3 separate regions of the Homo sapiens genome follow, and all the other regions are linked to region 3. Evidence: promoter capture Hi-C in 16 types of primary human blood cells and fetal thymus (Javierre and others, 2016). All regions are on one chromosome and are shown on one strand. Each heading gives the region's core, a stretch centred on a gene start or on the middle of the fragment in contact. The rest is flanking DNA. Distances are from core to core; before and after follow the strand shown. Region 1 overlaps CBLB (Cbl proto-oncogene B). Region 2 overlaps CBLB (Cbl proto-oncogene B). Region 3 holds the start of CD47 (CD47 molecule).

Region 1 (2,928 bases), core at 33-2,532, 2.3 Mb before region 3:
TAAACATTTTCTAAACTAACAAAATAAGTATCTTTTCAAATTTTAGTTCCACACATTTTTTTAGCATAAAATAGAAAAGAAATAAATATGCACTAATAAGTTTAAATAATTTCACTCTTGACCCTAGGGCAAAATACTATCTTTCCTTGAGTCATATATTTGTAAGAGAGATGATTATACATAAAATATAAACTGAAATAATTTTACAAATAAACTTTATTTTTCAAACACAACCTACTCGATTTTAACAAGAAACTGTAGGTCTAAGGAGCTCAGCCCTGAGTCCAGAAAGGTCAAAGGAAGTTTTATACAACGTTCTCTTGGGACATTTCATGACATCACCTACAAAGACAGTTCAAGAAGGTGAGAAAACATTTTAACCACAGTGGAACAGAAGCTTCTAGGGAACCTCTATACCACATTTCTAGACCAGAATATTTAACATATATAATTTGCCACAATTCTTTTTAAGTTACAGTCTTTCTTCTTCCTAAATACAAAAAAAAAAAAATTCATTAACAATCAATTTTGTTTTTTTAATCCCCTGTCCTCCCATGTAATGAATGCTGATGAGATCCTGAAATATTCCCCAAAGTAATGAAAAAAAATTAAAAATGCCCAGTTCATATAGCTCCTAAAATATGCCTCCTTTTAGGAAATACAAGTTACTTTTCTAATCTGGTTTTGTAGCTTATGAAAAAAATAAACATTCTTGAATACACAGGTAAAATAAACGTAACGAATACTGTTTGTCTTTCCATAAAGATGTTTTGTCACAGTAAAGGCAAGAAGATCAACTCTCACACACAAAACTGCAGCTATCAGCTGGGTGTGGTGACTCATGCCTGTGATCTTGACGCTTTGGGAGGCCAAGGCAGGAGAAATGCCTGAGCCCAGGAGTTCAAGACCAGCCTAGGCAACATGGCGAGACCCTGTCTCTACAAAAAATTTAAAAATCAGCCAGGCATAGTGGCATGTACCTGTAGTCCCACCTACTTGGGAGCCTACTTGGAGACTGAGGCAGGAGGATGGCTCAACCTAGTAAGTACAGGCTGCAGTGAGCTGTGTTCATGCCACCACACCATAGCCAGAGCGACACAGCAAGACCGTCCCAAAAAAAAAAAAAAAAAAAAAAAAAAAAAAAAAAACCAAACTGCAGCTATCTTCATAATAATGGAGGAAGATTTCTTCCAAAATCAAATTTTTCTATTTTTCTTCTACATTATTATACTTTTGAAACATTTCTTTATATTTCTAGTTAATTATCCTACTGCAAGAGAAATTCTTGCTATTGAAAGCCATGATAAGAAGTGTAAATCATCTATTACATATATTTGAAGTGGTATCTTCAAATAGTTTTAATTTAAGGGGATATCTCATTTCATATGTAATTAGTCAGCACATGTATAAACCCAAGGATCCCAACTGTCAGATGTATTTTATTTGCTTCCCTTTTCACTAGAATTCTTACTCTGGGGAATTCCAATGCCTTAGGTGTTATAAATGAGAACAAAGAAGAAGGAGTGATGCAGAGTTATCACACTTTCTACCTCCTCCCCTGCCCCTGCCCCAGTAATGCATTGCTGCCAACATCAAAACATCTTGGAAGGCTGTCCAGGGTATCGTTACCTTACAAATCCCCATGAACCATGATGAGAAAAGCCTACTATTAATAAATAAATAAAGCCACGTAATAGGTGTCCAAAATTGCCTAATAAGATTGCCCATTGTTTATATGACAGACATTTAGATCCTTGTACTCTGTACTTAATTTCCTACCAGAAGCAATATTTCCTATCAAAGACTTTTCCTTTGTTGTATGTAATAATTTCCCCTGACTCAGCACTATAAGGATCTGAATGTTTTTCTTCTGTTACAGGAAGCGTTGGTAACCCGGATACAGAATCAATCTTATAAAGCATCATATAACAAGAAAGATCAGTCAGACTTAGTCATGAAAGACAGGAGCCAGATTAAAAACTAGGTATTTTTTGTTGTTGTCTTAAAAGACCAATTTCTGTATCTAAAAGTTTGTTTCCAATAAATAAGTAAATAATTTACAGTCTAATATTAAGTTGTAAAGTTTAAAAACAGTAAAAATCTGTTTATATAATTTCAGAAACAGAGCCATTATCAAGTAAGAAAGTAAGACACATGCCATGTAATGGAAAGCTTATCTAAAGAGTAGCCTAATGTGAAGTACAATGTCTACTTCTCCTTCAATTAAAGCACAATGAACCAAAAACCACCAAATTTATGTCAAACTCTGTTCTCAAAAGTTGGTCAATTCATTCATTCAGATATTAACTGATTGCACATTGTCCATATAGCATGTAGTCTAGTGTAAATATAAAACATGGGAAGCACCAAAATTATAATTCAGTGACACCAAACTTCTAAGTGACTAGAACTTAGCTGAGGAGACACGGCTGACATGAAATATCCAAAATGCAAAACCTTGTCATTTAAATACGAAATTGCATGGTAACCAGAGTAACTTCCTTTCTTGTTTTATTTTTTCTGATATATACTTCCCCCAAACCAGACCATACACATAACCATGTTCATGGTTGAAAAATCAGAAGAGCAGAAGAGAAAAAGTGTAAAAATGAAAACACAATCCTTCAATTCCTCCACTCCTGAGATATCCAGCACCAAAGAACCACAATACAATATGCTTTCACATATTGTATTCTAAGCTAGGCGTATACTCCCATTCCTTTAAAATATCTTCCATGACATCTTTTCCTGCCTGTATCTCCTACCTGAGCATTAGCTTGGGGAATAGCTCAAATACATTTCCCCATTGAAAGGATGGGGATCTCCAGGTGGGCTCAGACCGCCAGGCGGGCTCAAATGCCATCCTCCGTGATTCCTGAAAATTGTGAGCTTCCCTCAAGTAGAAATGAGAACCTGAAGCATCAAGAT
Region 2 (2,980 bases), core at 231-2,730, 2.2 Mb before region 3:
ATAAAAATGAGGAAATGGGCCTTCTCTGTTGACAACCAATGTCTCACATTTATATGTTATTTTACTACACTGAATTCCCAGCTGTTGCTGTCTCATAGTTTGTTAATTAGCGTTTTGGTGTACTGTTCTGAACCCCGAGGACAATAAAACAAAGAGGTGCAATTTGAATAACTGAGTTATTAAGTAGTAAATGTGTGTCAGGTCAGAACCAGTCTTTTCCACCTCCCCATACTGTCTACCACGCCTATAAACATGTGGCATATAACGGTTCAGTCATCCCATCACAGGTGCTGCCCAACCACTGGGGCGTTCAGGGGCTGCCTGCAGAACTGAAAGTACCTTCTGCCGGCCAGAGAAGGTAGTAATCCAACTAATGTATTCACTTCTACATGTTCATGTGATTTAGCCAAGAGTAAGTTAGTCCACCACATTCTTATCCCTCCAGAAAGGGCATAATCAACTCTTTACATAAATAACTTTCAAATGAAATAATTGAGAATTGCACAGTAGCATTATATAGTGTAATGGGACAGCACTCTTACAAAAGGTTAAATGTTCACATAAAGATCATAAAGATACATGGCTCTCTTCTAAGGCCCTCGTTGTATTTTTTTTTTTTGTCAAATTGTCAAGAGTATATCTTATTTTATTTTATTGTTTTTTTAAGACGGAGTCTCATTCTGTCACCCAGGCTGGAGTGTAGTGACACGATCTCAGCTCACTGCAACCTCTGCCTCCCGGGTTCAAGTGATTCTCCTGCCTCAGCCTCCCAAGTAGCTGGGATTACAGGTGCCTGCCACCGCACCTGGCTAATTTTTATATTTTTAGTAGAGACGGGATTTCACCATCTTTGTCAGGCTGGTCTCGAACTCCTGACCTTGTGATCCACCCGCCTCGGCCTCCCAAAGTGCTGGGATTACAGGTGTGCGCCACCGTACCCGGCCTAAGAGTATAATATCTTAAACATAATTGGCTAAAGCCTCCTGTTGGGTGGCACTGGAGTGGCTGTGGGTATTTTTGGAATCTGGCTAATGGAAATTTGAATTGAAGACACATTTACTTTGGGTTTAATGGAAGGTATATGTGAGGCATACAGTCACTCCTGTAAAATGGTTTAATTACTGTCAGCAATCCCAATGAAACTGAAATAAGGCAGGCAAAGAAAGAATATACTATTAATATATGATCTCATTTTCACATGCAAAATCTTAAAAGAAGGAGTTAAGCAACAAAGAAACAGAGAGTAGAACAGTGGGTGGGCCCCAGGGATGGGGAGGGGAAGAAATGGAGAGAAGAAGGTCAAAGAGTACAAATTTGAAGTTATGTAGGATAATTAATACTGGAGATCTAATGTACAGCATGAGGCCTATAGCTAATAATACTGTATTCTGAAAATTTGCTAAGAGAACAGAGTTTAAATGGTCTTACCACAGAAAGGTAATTATGGAAGGTGAAGGATATGTTAATTTATTTGATGTAGTAACCATTTCACTATGTGTATATATATCAAAGCATCATGTTATACACCTTAAATAAATACAATATTTTTTAAATCTGTAATAGAACTTTTTTTAAAAGATGGTTTTAGAAATACCTGAGGTGCCCACAATGCTGACTAGCCTACCATGGGAACAGTGAAATCCAATTCAAATCTGGCAATTTGAATGTGTTTCATGACACCCAAAACTGGAAGTATATGCGGTAACGGAAGATAATCAAAGTATAAAATGTACAGAGCCAAAAACTAGTCTAGATTATTTCTCTAATCACTTGTAGATATACCGGCTTTTTAAAAACTATAGTGCTTTGTGGATTTTTCTCATTCTAAAAAAAATTCACTTTCATAAACAATTTGATGTTTGTACTTTCGTATTCTTTATATTTAGAAAGATTCTTTCAAATCATATAAGTTTCAGGGGACATAAAACATGGATCTGCCTCTGGGCACCCATAAAAGTGCCTGGGACAAATAAACAATCGAACTATAATAACTTCAAGCATAACGAACACAATAAATCAAGGAACTAACAAATTTAAAGGGTACTCTTATACACACTATCACACTTACTTTCTTAAAGAAATTGGCCAGGCGCAGTGGCTCACACCTGTAACCCCAGCACTTTGGGAGGCCGAGACAGGCAGATCATGAGGTCAGGAGTTCGAGACCAGCCTGGCCAACATGGTGAAACCCTGTCTCTACTAAAAATACAAAAAGTAGCTGGGTGTGGTGGCAGGTGCCTGTAATCCCAGCTACTAAGGAGGCTGAGGCAGGAGAATCACTTGAACCCGGGAGGCAGAGGTTGCAGTGAGCTGAGATCACATCACTGCACTCAGCCTGGACAAGAAAGCAAGACTCCATCTCAAAAAAAAAAAAAAAAAAAAGAAAAGGAAAAAAAAAAGAAATCACTGGGGATCAGGGTTTTTTTCAGAGGGAGTAGATGGAGAGAAAAATCTGGTTCAAATTTCCAACCATCAGCCTCTAATTTAAGATGTTTTTCACATTAACCCAGGGCATGATCTTATATTCTTCCTCTTTGTAAACAATGCCTTAAAGCAGAATTGCTGAGTACATAACCAACAAATTAATGGATTGGTTGACTGCTATTTTTTTTTCACAAATAGTTTGATTGTATTATTTCCTTTATTTTTACAATTGAACTCTAAAGTATCAAGTATTCAAATTAATAATCCAAAGGTATAGGCTTAGTTAAAAAGTAATAATAGTATTTTTATCTCCAAGAAAGTCCTTGGAAAGGTAAGATGTCATCTCATTTACTAAATAACAGCAAATCTTTACAAAGTATAGTGAAAATGGCTGACAGAGCTTTTTTTACCCCCTTTTTAATACGTGATACGTTAGTATAATCAGAGTTCATTCTGCCCTAAAGATTAAGTCCCAAATATGCCAATTATTTAACAAATCCTGCTTGAAAAAGAATATGGTTTTTAAATTATTTAAACCAAAAATACTATCACAAGT
Region 3 (3,042 bases), core at 253-2,752:
TATGCGATTATACAACACATCTCTGAAAGCAGTATTATTTTAGCTATAATGATAGTAAAGGCAACAAGCATACTAAACGTGATGACAGGAAACACTAACATCAACCATTTAGATAACGGAGACCTGGATTCACAGTCCCAACATCCAGGATGCTCGGGGAGGGAGGAAAGTGGTAAGCAGAGACTTAAGGGCATCTTGGAAATACCTAAAGTCACAAGCCTTTAGGAACGGCACACCGAGGCTAATAATCAGTTTAAAATCGAATTAATTTAGCATTCTAGAATAAATGTAACAATTGCTGTCACTGGTGCTCAAGCTGAATTCTGAATCTTATAAAAGTTCACAAAAGGCTCTATGGATGTGAAGTGTGACAGGCACTCACTGTAGAGCTACGAATGTTTCTATTCCTTGCTCAGTTTTTACAGACGAAGCACACGTTTTACAAAAGCGAAATGGATTCCAAAAGCTCGGGGTGGGGGTGGGGGGGTGGAGGTTCTTTGGCGTCGAAAAACACCAAATCCCATTCTGCTGCACATGTTTTGACTGGAGGTTACTGTCTTCCTATTTCAGGCGAAAACCAGATTACTTTTAAAACGGTTCCCCCAAATAAAGTGGGAAAAACTTCAACGTACAATTTAGAATGTATGCAAGTGGCTGATGGGGCGTGAGGGTCACGAGAAAGGAAGAGTTTCCAGCAAGCTTATTTTTAGGATTAAAAACGACAGCAAAAATTACACGGCCGGAAGATTCTTCTGATTGAATGCTGAGTTGAAAATGAAACTTAATTGTGTCCTTTACGTCCTCTTCGCTCCTATGTTCATGTGGGAGGCAAACGGCAGAAACCCCTTCTCACCGACTTCGCCAAAATGCGCACTTCCATCGCAAGAGGCCCGGGCCCTCCCACTCTCCCTCCCTCAACCCCAAATGCGTCTAAGCACTGAGAAGGGAGAGGGGTGCGAAAGAAGGGGATCCCTAGCAGCTGCAGCCCCTTGCCTCTGATCGCGCCCTTTCTTGCTAGTTAATTTTTGCGCGAGGTGCGCGGTTTGGAGTCTTCCTGTGTGTGTGCATTTGGAGATGGAGAACCGGGTGGAGGAGATGAGCCCCGCTCTCACCCAGGGGGAAGAAGACGACCAGGGAAAGGAAGGGAGGAAGAAGGGGGGCGCCCGATTCCCCGTGGGGCCCTCCCACGTCTGCACTTCGGGCGCTCAGGGCCCGAGTGTTCTGCGCCCCGGCCACCCTCTTCAGGGCGCCGCCGGGCTGGCTGGGGCGCAGCCCACACGCCCGCGGGGGCGAAGCGACAGCAGCCGCAGGGCTGGGAGCGAGGAGCCACTCACCGCAGCACGCCGAGCCCAGCAACAGCGCCGCTACCAGGGGCCACATCTCCGCGCCCGCCGCGGGGTCGCCGCCGCCGCCGCAGGTGTCCGGAGCAGCAGCCGCCGCCGCCGTTACAGGCAGGACCGACCGCCGCCGCGCGTCACAGGCAGGACCCACTGCCCAGGCTGCACGGCCGCGCGCACGCGCGCTCCCACTGCTTCCCGCCCGCTCCCCCGCCTGCTCCCCGCCCGCGAGAGCCGCGCACGCGCACTCGGCCCCGCCCCGCAACCGCTGCTGTTGACGCGGCGCCCTCCCCAGTCGCAGGCTCCAGACCCGGGGCCCGCCTGCCCGCTCCACGGAGGCCGGATGCCTGCTCCAGGGCGGTGGCACGCGCCGCGCTTCCAGGTCACGTCCTGTCGCACCCGCCCGCCCCTGGGGTCCGCGTGCTCGCCCGCCGCAGGAGGCTGAACCCTGTGTTCCCACGCTCGCCGGGGACCTCATTGCACCCGTTCCTGTCCGCGGGTCGGTTCCTGCCTTTCGCGCGGCGCTGGGCCCCACTGTCCTCTCTCTCTACTTTTCTCCTCTTTGCTTTCACTCCCACCCTCGCGCTTCAGGGGCCGGGTCCCGTCCCGCCCCAGCCCGCGTCTCTCCCTGGACCCGACGTCCGGCTGCGCGCGTGGACCAGGACACCTAGGCTTTCACCAGCGCCCGTTTCCTCCGGACGCGGCCGTCTAGCGCCGAAGCGGTCCCTGAGCCCGAGGCCGCCACGCCCAGGGCAGGGCGGTGGTCGGGTACCTGCCCGCAGGGAGCTTCCACTCGCCCCTCGCGGGCTCTGCGTTCGGCTCGTCTACTCGCTCTGCTCTTCCCTATGCGGTTCTCTTCCCTCTTTCTCACTTGGTTCTTTAGTGTTTTCATCCTCTGATCAGGGTTAATCAAACAAGTTCCATTCACGGTGGTAAACATTGTTACCTGTGAACACCGCCACCACCGGGACTAGCGAGCATTGTCGCAAACAGGCATTAGCAGCGTATCCAACACATCCCCACCAGCAAGGTTATTGAGCTTGGTTTGTGACTGCCCCATGTGCAGCCCTCTGCGCTGCGCTTGGGTTTAACATGCTTGAAAAATGGGTTCGAAATGTGGCCGCAAGCCACAATAGGGACAAGGCTTTTGAATTTATCGCTGAATCACACAGGCCACATCATTCATCCTGAAGCAAAAGTCTTTTAAAGATACTTTTAACCGTTATCCTAACTGATGTACTCTCTTATCAAAAAGTCAGGCTCTGGTGGCTGCTCTAATGGAGTGCACATCCTGTCCACCTCCTTGATTGTTTTCCTCCTACCTCCTGGGAAAGAAAGCAATTTCCCACCACAATACCCCACTTCTCCAAATCCTCTACACAGTGCGGCTCCTCCCAAGCATCCCATTGCCACAGAAATAAAATCCAGCGTATGAAAGTGGCACTGTCTATGACACTCTGTACCAGTGTATTGTATACTATCGAGCTTCTTCCTGTAATTGCTTTTTTGTGTGAACCTCTTCCCCACAGCATTATCAATTCTTTTAAATCCGAGAGCATTTTAAGTATTCCCTCCTCCAAGACTTTCCATTGAGCTCGGCAAACAGAAGGGGTTTAATAAATGTGTTGATGCGGCGTGAGGCAGGCATTGCTCTAGTGAAATTTGATTGCTTTTTTAATGATTGAAAAATAAAAACAATTGCCTG

What was found. Contacts are between HindIII fragments. The CHiCAGO score rates a contact against its expected background, and 5 or more counts as called.
Region 1: a contact is called between a fragment that was not itself captured here and the fragment with the promoter of CD47 in region 3, in 1 of 17 cell types (M0 macrophages). The highest score is 6.0, in M0 macrophages.
Region 2: a contact is called between a fragment that was not itself captured here and the fragment with the promoter of CD47 in region 3, in 1 of 17 cell types (neutrophils). The highest score is 6.1, in neutrophils.

Annotation. Positions count from the first base shown.
Region 1 is chr3:105,828,554-105,831,481 of GRCh38, forward strand. The region is part of intron 3 of CBLB (Cbl proto-oncogene B); the gene reads right to left. Among named protein-coding and RNA genes, the nearest start is that of CBLB, 39 kb to the right of the region's middle. RefSeq lists a silencer at 401-450. The HindIII fragment of the contact is 1,775 bases long and covers 396-2,170 here.
Region 2 is chr3:105,853,987-105,856,966 of GRCh38, forward strand. The region is part of intron 2 of CBLB (Cbl proto-oncogene B); the gene reads right to left. Among named protein-coding and RNA genes, the nearest start is that of CBLB, 14 kb to the right of the region's middle. The HindIII fragment of the contact is 6,069 bases long and covers 1-2,980 here.
Region 3 is chr3:108,089,529-108,092,570 of GRCh38, forward strand. CD47 (CD47 molecule) reads right to left here and starts at 1,503. Exons shown (of 11, transcript NM_001777.4): 1 at 1,335-1,503. The coding sequence starts at 1,380. RefSeq lists silencers at 1,227-1,976, 1,997-2,046, 2,057-2,116. The HindIII fragment of the contact is 8,318 bases long and covers 698-3,042 here.